2 separate regions of the Homo sapiens genome follow, and region 1 is linked to region 2. Evidence: promoter capture Hi-C in human tissues and cell types (Jung and others, 2019). All regions are on one chromosome and are shown on one strand. The core of a region is centred on a gene start or on the middle of the fragment in contact, and the rest is flanking DNA. Distances in the headings are between cores, read along the strand shown.

Region 1 (6,053 bases), core at 1-2,500, 38 kb after region 2:
CAAGATTTTTCATGATTCTAATAAACCCTAAAGCATTTTAAGACCTAATGTAGGGAGAAGATTAAGGTATAAACATTTTAAGTTAATCTTATGCAAAGTGAATTATACTTCATAAAGGCTTTCTTCCCCTCATTGACAAAGTCCCATACTACCCACACAGAAGCCCAGAACCTACCGTGCTGCTTGTAAATCTGTTTGTGTAGGCTGTGATGACACCGCATTTGCTTCCAGTAAACAGCTGGCAACTGTCAGGCACCCAAGCACAACTAGTCACCTTTGAAAAAGGACCAATCAAAGATTATCATGTTTTAAAAGAATGAAACTTAAAGTATAATAAAAATAAAATAAAAGAATGAAAAATACTTCTACTTTTCTGACAACTATTTTTTTTAACTCTCAAAAATGTTAGGTAAACATTTCTTGAAACAGAAACGTGTCAGATATAGTAATATTCCGTAACTTTGAGCCAAATGTCTAAATGTTGTTTCCAAATTAAAATATATTATAATGCATAGTCTATGTCTATACGTGCCTGTGTGTGGATATATGTGTATATATATTTAGATAAATTTAACAAAATGATTCAGGATTGATTAAATCCAAGGTTGAGTGTGAATGTATGTGTACTTCACATATTTATTTGCTTTTTGCTTTTATTTTCCTCGTTTTATGTCTTTGGTGGGGAAACAGGTACATGTAAACAGAGGTATTGCTTCTAATAGTTCTAAAGATTGTTAAGCAGGGGAAGAAAGAAGATAAATGTGAATGTAAAAGATGGGATTATGCCTTTGGTACAAAATCCCTCAGTCCTAACCATGGAGGCACCACTCAGGTTTGAGTCAATTTTCTATGTGGCCTGACAGGTCCTCTTTTCCATGCTAGCTGACCCCCACCCTGAGCACCATGTCCGCAGCAACTGTCCCCAACTGCTCTCCTGTCCCACCTCCCCCACACTCACTTCACTAAGCAGATGGAGACCCCCAGCTGCACACCTCTTCCTCTCCTCTCCTCTGCACCTCAACATGTTTCCCTGTCTTCTGATTCAGAGAAAGAAATGTCTGCTTTCAAGGTCAGCCTTGCCTCATCCTCAGGCTTCCTCAGAAACCTTGTTTTCTTTTTCTTACAGTTTCAAGCTGTCTCTTGCTGGCTTCCCCCCTTGCACTACAAGTGTGTTCACGTCTCTGCTACCTTAGAAAATGACTTTCTCTGATCTTTATTCTTCTTAACTCCCGTTATACCATAAGGATCCATTGGATCCAATTTTATGTTTTCAGTTTCTTTCTTGAGTAGTTCTATTTGTTAGGATTGATACTTCATAAATTTTATTCTTTCTTGGAGGTCTTCCAAAGAACAAAGAGAAAATGCACTTTTAAAAAATACACAGAATAAAACTCATTCTGTCTTGGAATTACCACATGGATCCAGTGAATCAACCTAAGTTACATTACAAGATCTTAATAACTAACTTGTTTTTCTATATCCTGAAACATTTAGCGATTTCATCATTCTAAAAATTATTTCATCACTACTCATCAATTATTCCTAAATACGCAAAAAACAAACAAACAAGCAAGGAAATGGGAGAATGATGGAATCTCCCAAGAGGATAATCTAATATGTGAACTAAATCGTCATCTTTTGGTTTTCTTATTGCATTGTCCAAAGTATAGTGTCATCTTTCAGGAAAGTATAAAAGAAGGCTGGAGACACCACTTCTGTAGTCTACTTTTGGCTTTCATTGAACACGGTGGAGAATTCAGAATTTTTCATTTTCTACCAAGAAAGCTGACAGAGGAAGATGTTTCACAATTATGAGACTAATCACAACATGAAGGCACACAGCCGTCAGGACTCTAGACTCTACTGATGATGATGAAATTGATCATATAAGTGAAATCTCAGAGCGTGAGTCTTTATATAACAAAATCCTGGCTGGGCACAGTGGCTCATGCCTGTAACCCAGCACTTTGGGAGGCCGAGGCGGGCGGATCATGAGGTCAGGAGATCGAGACCATCCTGGCTAACATGGTGAAACCCCGTCTCTACTAAACATACAAAAAAATTAGCTGGGTGTGGTGGCACGCACCTGTAGTCCCAGGTACTAGGGACGGTGAGGCAGGAGAATCGCTTGAACCCAGGAGGGGGAGGTTGCAGTGAGCCGAGATCGCACCACTGCACTCCAGCCTGGCAACAGAGTGAGACTCCGTCTCAAATAATAATAATAATAATAATAATAATAATAATAATAATAATAACAACAACAACAACAACAACAATAATATCCTAGCTGAATTTTCTCAAATCAAAGAATTAATGGGTGAACAAAAATATATCTTTAGAAATGTATCTCTAGATGAAAATGCAATATAGTATTCTCATCCAGTTTAGTCATTTGACTCAAAGTATCACACAATGTCATCACATCTTGTTTTGCTAACAGGACTTGTGATAGTGTTCTTTCATCTTTATTTTCATCTATTATGATACAAATAATTTTGCAATGTTTAAATTCTTTTATATACATGAAATATTATTCAGCCTTTAAAAAGATGGAAATCCTGTTATTTGTGATAACACAAATGACCCTGGGGGACACTGTATTAAGTAAAATCTGCCAGGCACAGAAAGACAAATACTGTATGATCCTGCTCCTATGTGGAATCTAAAAAAAGCTGAACTACAGAGAGTAGAGTAGCAGTAGCCAGGGGCTGAGAGTGCTGGTAATGTGTGTGGAATGGAGAGATGGTGGTCAAAGGGTACAGGTTTCAGTTGTGCAGGATGATTACGTTCTGGAGATCTAACGTAGAGGATGGTGACTACTGTTAATAATACTGTGTTGTATTCTTGAAATTTGCTAAGATAGTAGATCTTAAATATTCTCATCACACACGTAAAAAATGCTAACTATGTGAGGTGACGAATGTGTTAATTAGCCTGACTGTAGTAATCATTTCACAATGTATATATACATGTATTAAAACATCACATTGTATACCTTAAATATATACAATTTTATTTGTCAATTTTATCCCAATAAAGCTAGAAAAAAATAAAAATAAGAATTTTAAACAACTTTATTCAAGCTTTGGATCTGCTAAACTAACAAGTCAATTTACTTGGCAAAAACAATTTGACTAAATGCTTGTCTTTGTACTGGTGAAAATAAATTAGTGAATCGGAAAGCATCTTTAAAGTTATTTGTTCATCTTTGTCCTCTCTTCACACCACATCAATCTAATGTAACAGTACCCAACTCTTAAATAGAAGGAATGCCTAGTAATTAAAGGTGTAAAGAATTTGATTGAAAGCTTATGTTATATCTTTAACATTGCGTTGAAAACATTCAATTAATACTGATGATGATTTCATTTTTCTTCACTTTTCATTGGAAAGTCAAGATGTTTGTAAATACAGATTACTGATGACAGCAATGAGTTAAATCTGCTCATAAATTTGTGTCAGTGTATTTTGACAGGTAGAATGTATTGTATATCTAACTCCCACTGTACATATTTGTCTGTTTTTCCCAATTTATAATAATCCCAAAAAGGGTGCAGTAAGGGACATACTGATTCTATAATATGTTTTTGTGTTTTCATTTATTTTGTAGACTCATTTCCAATTTAGTTATACTACAAGCTTTGCCATGATTTATGGTTATAACTTGTTTGTGTTTGGATATATATATTTCTATCTGCATACAAAGGCTCTGGTTAATGCAGCCTGATGTTTCAAAACTAAAAAAAAAATCTTATTAAAGTTCCTAGTAAAGTTGTTTTTCACTGTCTCTTTATTCTTACTTCTGTCAGTTTCCTGGTAAGCTATATAACAAATGGTGGCAATATTTTGGTCAGGGATATTGAGGGTTATGCAAACAAGGCACTGCTCCTCTTGCTTTCACTGCTAAACATTCCCCTAAGTAGCTTCCTCCATTTCTAAAGAGCTCAGGGAATGGGATACATTTTAGGACACATGATAAGGCAGCAGGTGTTATGCAGGTAATGGAAATCAGAGGATGAATGGTAAGAGAACTTCCCATGGAAAGAGAGTCAAAAAAGAAGGCTGTCCATACGATTTACAGTCTGGAACGGTTGCAGCAGCATACTGTATATTTACATGGTATTTTACAGTTTACAAGTTTCTTTTTTTTTTTTTTCCCTTGAGACAGAGTCTCGTTCTGTTGCCCAGGCTGGAGTGCAGTGGTGCAATCTTGGCTCACTGCAAGCTCCGCCTCCCGGGTTCACGCCATTCTCCTGCCTCAGCCTCCCGAGTAGCTGGGACTACAGGCGCCCGCCACCACGCCCAGCTAATTTTTTTTGTATTTTTAGTAGAGACGGGGTTTCACTGTGTTAGCCAGGATGGTCTCGATCTCCTGACCTTGTGATCCGCCCGCCTCGGCCTCCCAAAGCGCTGGGATAACAGGCTTGAGCCACCGCGCCTGGCTACAGTTTACAAGTTTCTTTCACAAACACTGGAAACATTTTACAGCAGCTTTCTGAGAAAGAAGTGTGAGTACTATTATCTTGGTTGTAATGAGGAGGAAAGAAACTCAAGTTTGGAGAGATTAAGTTACTAGTCAAAGGCTGCAGTTAGTATATAACGAAGCTGGGACACTAACAAAGATCACAGGGCTTTAGGCCCAATGTTCTTTCTACTATACATGATGTCTGAATAACCAGTCCATTTAGGAAAAATCAGGTATAAAAGATGGCACTATGGTTACAGAAAATGACCTAATGACAAAGGTGAGTGAACACTGAGAAGAAGGCAATGCTGATTTGGTTCAAACACTATGCCCTTCACTGATGTTGAGCAGGAGATTTTGATAATATTCTCTCAATGAGAAAATGGGTAGAAAACAAATTTGGGGGACACAAATAGTGGTAGTTAGGAAGTCTGTAAGTACTATAAACATCAGATTCTCTCTTTTTTTTTTTTTTGAGATGGAGTTTTGCTCTGGTTGCTGATGCTGGAGCGCAATGGCACGATCTCAGCTCACTGCAACCTCTGCCTCCCAGGTTCAAGTGATTCTCCTGCCTCAGCCTCCCGAGTAGCTGGGATTTACAGGTGCCCACCACCATGCGTGGCTAATTTTTGCATTTTTCATAGAGGCAGGGTTTCACCATGTTGGCCAGGCTGGTCTCGAACTCCTGACCTCAGGTGATCCCCGCACCTTGGCCTCCCAAAGTGCTAGGATTACAGGCGTGAGCCACCATGCCCAGCCTAACATCAGATTCTTGACTGGACAAATTGCAGGATATTAAAAACTGGCTGCTTGGCTGGGCACAGTGGCTCACGCATGTAATCCCAGCACTTTGGGAGGCTGAGGCGGGAGAATCACCTGAGGTCAGGAGTTCGAGACCAACCTGGCTAACATGGTGAAACCCCGTCCCTACTAAAAATACAAAAATTAGCCAAGTGTGGTGGCACATGCCTGTAGTCCCAGCTACTTCGGAAGCTGAGGCAGGAGAATTGCTTGAATCCGGGAGGCGGAGGTTGCAGTGGGCACAGATCACACCACTGTACTCCAGCCTGGGCGATGGAGCGAGACTTCATCTCATAACAAACCAACCAACCAACCAACCAACCAACCTAGCTGCTATCAGTCTGACTCTTTTTTTTTTAAGATGGAGTCTCGCTCTTGTCACCCAGGCTGGAATGCAATGGCGTGATCTTGGCTCACTGCAACCTCTGCCTCCTGGGTTCAAGCGATTCTCCTGCCTCAGCCTCCTGAGTAGCTGGAATTACAGGAATGTGCCACCATGCCTGGCTAATTTTTTTTGTATTTTTAGTAGAGATGGGTTTTCCCCGTGTTGGCCAGGCTGGTCTTGAACTCCTGACCTCAGGCGATCTGCCCGCCTCAGCCTCCCAAAGTGCTGGGATTACAGGCATGAGCCACTGTGCCCAGCCAGTCTGACTCATTTTTATGCATTAACCATTATAAAGATACCACAAAAACGTTTACATGGGCCAGACACAGTGGCTCACTGTAATCCCAGCACTCTGGGAGGCCAAGGCGGGTGAATCATTTGAGTCCAGGAGTTTGAGGCCAG
Region 2 (6,662 bases), core at 2,153-4,652:
ACACTCCTGGACAGAGAGGACACAAGCAGTCACTGCTGTTTTTTGCAAATTAGAAACTTGGCAGGTATCCTGTGAGTATCAAAGGAGATCATCCACATGACACGTCTAGCCCAATCATTGCCCTTCTTTCCCCTTGTTGCCCACTAACCTGGGCTCCTAGCCCTATCCGATCCTCGGAGACTGGGCCTTTGGTGACCCACAAACCTCACGGCCATGGAGACGAACAGTTCCTCCATAGCTCCCTATACTTCCTCACTCCTGGGCACCCAGGGCTCCTTCCCCAGTGAGCACGGCGTCTTGCACACAGCCGGCTTTCCCTTATCTGCATGGCACCTGTCACTCTGTCTACCAATTTCCAGCAGGGAATCTGATTGCCCACCAGCCACCATTCAGTCTAACAAGAACTCCTTGGCAATTAGAGGAATTTGGAACGCTCCAGCAAGCTCACTGAACTGATCTCTTTTTAAGCACCCATTGTTTTCTCTGCAGTAATTTTTTTCTTTCAGCAGCTTTTCTAGCCCCTATTTCTTAACATTTCCTAAAATGAAAATTTCATTTGTGTTTTTACTTTTGATCATTTATTAACAGTCTTTGGCTTATTCTTTAGAGGTTTTTAACCAGCTTCTTTCAGTCTTTCGGTAGTATTACCCTGCAATCTCCTTTTCTTTCCTGATACCATTTAGCTTTTCTGACTTTCAATTAAAATATCCTTGCTATCCACTGTTGATAGGTTATTTATGTAGTACTTATACCTCTATTAAAGGAGTTAAATTTTGGTTTCTGGTTTTAAAAAAGAAACAATCTCTCTACCTGAATAATACAAGTCTCTATGCCTAAGTATATCTAGAATGAATAAAAATACCAAATTTTAAAAAAGGAAAACCAGCAAGATTAGATAGCAGTATATCCTTAAAAGGTGTTTCAAGAACAAAAATCAGGTAATATTTTAAAGTTACTACTTCAAAATTCCACGAAGAAAGGGGCAATCTTCTGACATACATTATTAGGCATTCTCCCCTCTCCAAGCAGAAACTGAGACAAACTAGGAAAAATGTGATAGTGAAATAAGTGAGATGCAGCTATAAATAAAAGAAGAAATTGTTGGGTACAGACCTTAGTCTTTGCTTTCTGCATAAGCAGTAGTTTTGTGGTAGGCGTGGGTTTGGGCGTGTAGGTCTTGGGGGAAGGAGCATTGTACACATTTTACAGTGTTCCTGCCCTCCTGAGACAGCTGTGGCTCTTGCTTCCCCAGGGGTCAGGGTCCATGTTCCCACCTCATGTTGTTTATTTATTTTGAGGCCAGAGTGCAGTGGCACCATCTCAGCTCACTGCAACCTCTGCCTCCCAGGTTCAAGTGATTCTCGTGCCTCAGCCTCCCAAGTAGCTGGGATTACAGGCGTGCACCACCACGCCCGCCTAATTTTTTGCATTTTTAGTAGATACGGGGTTTCACCACGTTGGCCAGGCCGGTATCGGACTCCTGACCTCAAGTGATCTGCCTGCCTCGGCCTCTGAAAGTGCTGGGATTACAGGCGATGTTCCCACCTGATGTTCTATCATTTCAAAGAATGCACTGAATATTGGGGGACTTCAGGGACTGTCACTTTTGCTTTAAAAACTGTAAAGTGAATCTAGGAAAAGCTTTTTTTTTTTCTGGTTTCTCCACCATCAGTTTGCATGAGAAACGCCAATCATAGGACTGCTGGGAATGGCCCCTTAGCTGTGCTGTTTCTGAGCCAGGCCTACATCCTCCACTGGCTTCCTTGGGCGAATTTTAAGGCCTATGAGCACTGGAGTTGTGCATGGAGGTGGGGGCCAACAGGAAGTCCATTGTCCTAAATAGTCATTTCAGCCTAACTAACCCCATGGTGAGGCTGCTCATTAACAGGCAAGGCATCACTGTAAACCTTGCATTTGCATTTACACCTACTATTTATTAAGTGCCACAGCCATCTCTTATCATGACCGGTCACTGAGCAAACCCTACATTTCAAAAACAATCCAGTTTATAGGTCCTCTGTCTGTTTCTCCGGGCTGGAAAAGGCTTTCCATTTATCAACTTAGTTGTCCCCCCAGTCGCCTCTTGCAGGGAACAGGGCCAGATCAGATGGCGGCTGGTTCCCCTCCCCCGCCTCATACAAAAATCAGGAAAAGGAGTTGCGGGAGGAATCGAGAAGCCGGCCGCAGAGCCCAGGTCCCCCATGGCTACTGTGAGGCATTCGCCGCTGCAAATTTCCTGTCCACTGTGGGAAGCGGCACACCTCACTCATGAGCAGACGACAGGACTGGCACGTTTTAATGGAGCACACGGGCGCAGCCTAGGCGGCCTTTTGCTCCGGCTGAGAGGCACGGGCCCGGTGCCAGCATTTGACAGTCCTGGGAGGCGACGGGTAGAGGAGAGACGCGGCAGCCGCGGGGCCGGGGAGACGGTGGGAGGCCCGGCGTCCATCATCCACTTTATTACTTGATCAAACTTTAACATTTTCGGGTTTCCTAACACCTTAGCCCCAAATACTCGAAATGAAGCAAATCTTAAATTAAGGAGTCTTTCCCCACCACGCTCTGTCCTCCTCCCCACTTCACCCTCCCGCCGTTTCGCGTTATTTCCAAGGCAATTTAAAAAATCAAGCCAAACAAAGCTCCCCGGTTGCTGCCGGGCGCGCGCGGCGAACGAAGCACATTTCAGTTCAGCACCAGCCTCGGGGACAGACGCCATCAAGGAGGTGAGGAAAACCACCCTCAGCTGCGGTGGCTCCAGCGTCACCCCGAGTGCTCCCGAGGCGGCGTCTGGGCTGCTGGGGAGCCAGGAGGGCTTCCTCAGGCACTCGCCAGAAACATTTCCCCAAAGAAAACGCCCAACCAGCCACGCCATCTCCTGCCACTGAGGTCCTTTTCCACGGGGGACGTCCCCGCTGGGAAAACAGCAAACGCTCTGTGACCTACAAATGGAAGAGGGGACCCCCGAGCCCCCGCCTGCCTCATGCCGGAGGGACCGGGCGCCCCCAGCCCCGGAAGCCCCTGGACGCGCTCCGAGGGGGCTGTCCACACCCGCGCGCGGGCTTCCCCGGGGCCCGGCGGGAGGTCCCGGGAGAGGAGGCCGAGGGAACCACAGGTCTTTGTGTCGCGTGCAGCAGCAGCTGGCGGCGTGAGGACCACACCGGCGCCAGAGCCGTCTCCCTAGGTCCGGAGACTTTCACCCCGAGTTTCCCTTCCGCGTCTGGCTGCACCGGGCTGGGCTCTCCCCGCGGACACCCGGGGCTCCGGCCGGGCGCCCACTTACCCGGAGCGGGATCACGCGCGGGCTTCGTCTGCAGCGCGGTGCTCGCGGGGGGCGGCCAGGCCGAGCGGCATCGCTCCGCATCGGGGCGCGGGCCGGGCTCGGGTGCAAACGCGCGCCTCGTGCCCCTCCCGCCGCCCGCGGGGTCTCCGCGTCCCGTCACCGGCCCCGCCCCGCGCCGCGCCTCCCGCCCTGCAGGGCCCGACCACGCGGGCCTGGGGGCGCAGGCGGACCCTCCCCCGGCCCTGGACGCTGGGGGCTTCTGCTCGGCCCCCTGTGCCGTGGGGGCCCAGACTGGGGAAGGGAGAGCCGGCGACTCTGCGACCCTCGCCCCCGTTCCACGCTGGCCGCGCCCACTCCGCCGCGGGGTCTCGCCCGGGAAATCCCGCCCGCTGCCACCGACGTCACTGCTGCGTCACCGGGGCTCCCGCGCTCCCCGCCCCCGCCCCCGCCCCAGCCCGGGCCCGCGCCCCCCGCCCGCTACTCGGGCCCACGCCCCCTGTCCCAGCAAAGGGCCGCGCCCCCGCCCCGCCCCCCCGGAGCCCGCGTGGCCGGGGGACCACTGGAGGGGTCTGTGGGGCGGGGCCGGGGGGTAAATCACTGGGGGGGGGTCTGGGGGGCGCGGCGGGGGGGAGATCACTGGAGGGATCTGCGGGGCGGGGCCGGGGGGGAAATCACCGGAGGGGTCTGGGGCGGGGCCGGGGTTGCTGGAGGGGTCTGGGGACGGGGCCGCGGTCAGCGCGGGCTCCCCGAAGCCTCAGGTACCGCCCTCGCTCGGGGTGAGCTCCAGCGCCTGGGCCGTTGGGGCGCGGGCCGCTTCCCACCCTGCACCAAGGGACGCCTCGGAAGCCTCCGGCCAAGGCGGGGAACGGCGGAGAAACGCGGAATACCTGTGCGAATTCGCGCGGCCGCGTCGCCACTAACCCGGCGAAGGCTGACCCGACGTTGCTGAGTGACGGGGACCAGGGGCCGGCGAGGCCCCCACTCCGGGGGGAGCGAGGCCGGGAGGGCGGAGGGCGCGTGCTGGAGGCGGGGGTGCCCTTCGCGCCCCGGTTCTAGGAGCGACTGCTCTCCAGGCCTCGTCCCTGTGGCACCGCAGGCTTTTGCGCTGGAGATTTTAAAACACTTTAGTGATTACAGCCCTCTTCCTTTCAGGGAAAAAACAGTTTAAGCGCCGTCCATTTTCCGACTTGGTAAAATAATACGAAACCTTGGGAATAGAGAAGCAACGAAAACATTTCACGCAGTGTTGGCAAGATTTGTAGAAAAGGAGGCCAATATTAATTCCCTTTGTGAAAACAACAACATAACATCATGATGAACGATTAGGAAATATTTCGGGAAGATCTGGGCGCCTCATCCTCATCCGCCGTCCACAAGCGGTCCCTGCCACAAAGGACACAGGGCGCGCTTGTTGCTCAGATCCCTGGCCCCACTGGTTGGACCTTGCCCTACACACACGTGTACCTTCTCGGAGCCCAAGGGCCAGATTGGATGCGAACGCGGAGATCACAAAGGCCCGTAAACACGGGGCCAGCAAACACATCGGTTTTTACAAAGCTCTCAAGTGCCCATTTAAGGCACAAAATTAAACCTTGGCAAACCGACGAAGCCAGTCCATGTCCACCTCACAGACTTTTAAAAGTGAGAAAGATATATGAGTACTGCATTGAAAATTCAAGCAAATCCAAACCCTAGCTCATTGTTTTCACCCCAAAATCTTATTTCTCCTGCATTTCCTGCCCACCTCCCGCCCCCGACTGGTTGGCTAAGGCAGAATCCTAGGTTTCCTTTTATCCCAAATCCCAATCTCAATTAATCAATCACAAGGGAAATCAGTGTCTACACTTTCAAGCGCATCATTTCCTTATTTTATCTTTCTAATTGTTACACTATCATTCAAGATAGGATCATGTCAGTTTTAAACAGGAGGAAGAGGTCAGTCAACAAGTGGTTCCAGAGTGGATCCCAAGACCAGTAGAATCAGCGTGTCACCTGGGAATCTTTTAGAGATGCAGACTCCCAGGCCCCACCCAGACCTAAGGAATCAGAAACTCTGGGGGTGGGGCCCAGCAACCTGTGATTCCCCAAACCCTCCAGGTAATTCTGATTCCGTTCATCTCTGGACATCACCCAGGATAGCTGCAGTAGTGTAAAGTCTGGCACCAGGACCCTGGGTATCAGTTTTCTTTCTTCTTATTTATTTATTTTTTTTGCGGAGTGGGAGGGAGTCTCGCTCTGTCGCCCAGGCTGGAGTGCAGTGGCGCGATCTCGGCTCACTACAACCTCCTCCTCCTGGGTTCAAGCGATTCTCCTGCCTCAGCCTCCAGAGTAGCTGGGACTACAGGCGTACGCCACCATGCCCAGCTAATTTTTGTATTTTTGGTAGAGATGGGGTTTCACCGTGTTGGCCAGGATAGTCTCGATCTCTTGACCTCATGAGCTGCCCTCCTCGGCCTCCCAAGGTTTTTCTTCTTTATTCCTAGTCATATCCTTTGTTCTGAAGTCTTCTTTGTTTATATCTATATAACCACTGCAGATTTCTTACTATTAGTGTTTGCATGATATGTGTTTATATCCTTTTAATTTTTAAATCTATCTGTATCTTTTTTTTTTTTTTTTTTTTTTGAGACAGACTCTCGCTCTTGTCGCCCAGGCTGGAGTGCAATGGTGCCATCTCAGCTTACTGCAACCTCCGCCTCCCAGGTTCAAGTGATTCTCCTGCCTCAGCCTCCTGAGCAGCTGGGATTACAGGCGTCCACCACCACACCCAGCTAATTTTTGCCTTTTTAGTAGAGACCGGATTTCAACTTGTTGTCCAGGCTGGTCTCAGACTCCTGACCTCGGGTGATCCTCCCACCTCGGCCTCCCAAAGTGCTGCGATTACAGTCGTGAGTCACCACGCCCGGCCTGTATCTTTGTTCTTAAAAGTGGGATTCTCCATCTTCGTAGGCAGCACAGAGCTGGATCTGCTTTTAAAATTCAGCTTGACGATCTGTCAGCTTGACAACTAATAGTAAAAAATCCGCAGTGGTTATATAGATAAAAACAAAGAAGACTTCAGAACAAAGAATATGACTAGGGATAAAGAAGGAAAACCTTGGGAGGTCGAGGCGGGAGGATCATGAGGTCAAGAGATCGAGACTATCCTGGTCAACATGGTGAAACCCCATCTCTACTTTTAATTGGAATGTTTAGTTCATTTACTTCTTATGTAATTATCATGTGGTTGGGTTTAAAACTACCAACTTGCTATTTGTTTTCTGTTTGTCCTATTCTTCATTCCTTTTTTCCTGCCTGAGTATACTTTAGTATTCCATTTTATCTCAAGTATTGACCTTCATTTTCCTCCTCTTTCTTTGTTCTAGGGTTTATAAAATGCATC

The links. Contacts are between HindIII fragments. The study calls those that stand out against the background at their distance.
Region 1: a fragment that was not itself captured here is called in contact with the fragment with the promoter of GNG4 in region 2 in 1 of the 25 tissues and cell types used here (IMR-90 fibroblasts).

What each region holds. Positions count from the first base shown.
Region 1 is chr1:235,686,774-235,692,826 of GRCh38, forward strand. It overlaps LYST (lysosomal trafficking regulator), which reads right to left. Exons shown (of 53, transcript NM_000081.4): 48 at 176-274. Among named protein-coding and RNA genes, the nearest start is that of GNG4, 40 kb to the left of the region's middle. The HindIII fragment of the contact is 3,890 bases long and covers 1-3,195 here.
Region 2 is chr1:235,646,382-235,653,043 of GRCh38, forward strand. It overlaps GNG4 (G protein subunit gamma 4), which reads right to left and starts at 3,403. Exons shown (of 4, transcript NM_001098722.2): 1 at 3,281-3,403. RefSeq lists enhancers at 1,608-1,902, 4,368-5,219 and a silencer at 3,268-3,377. The HindIII fragment of the contact is 19,046 bases long and covers 1-6,662 here.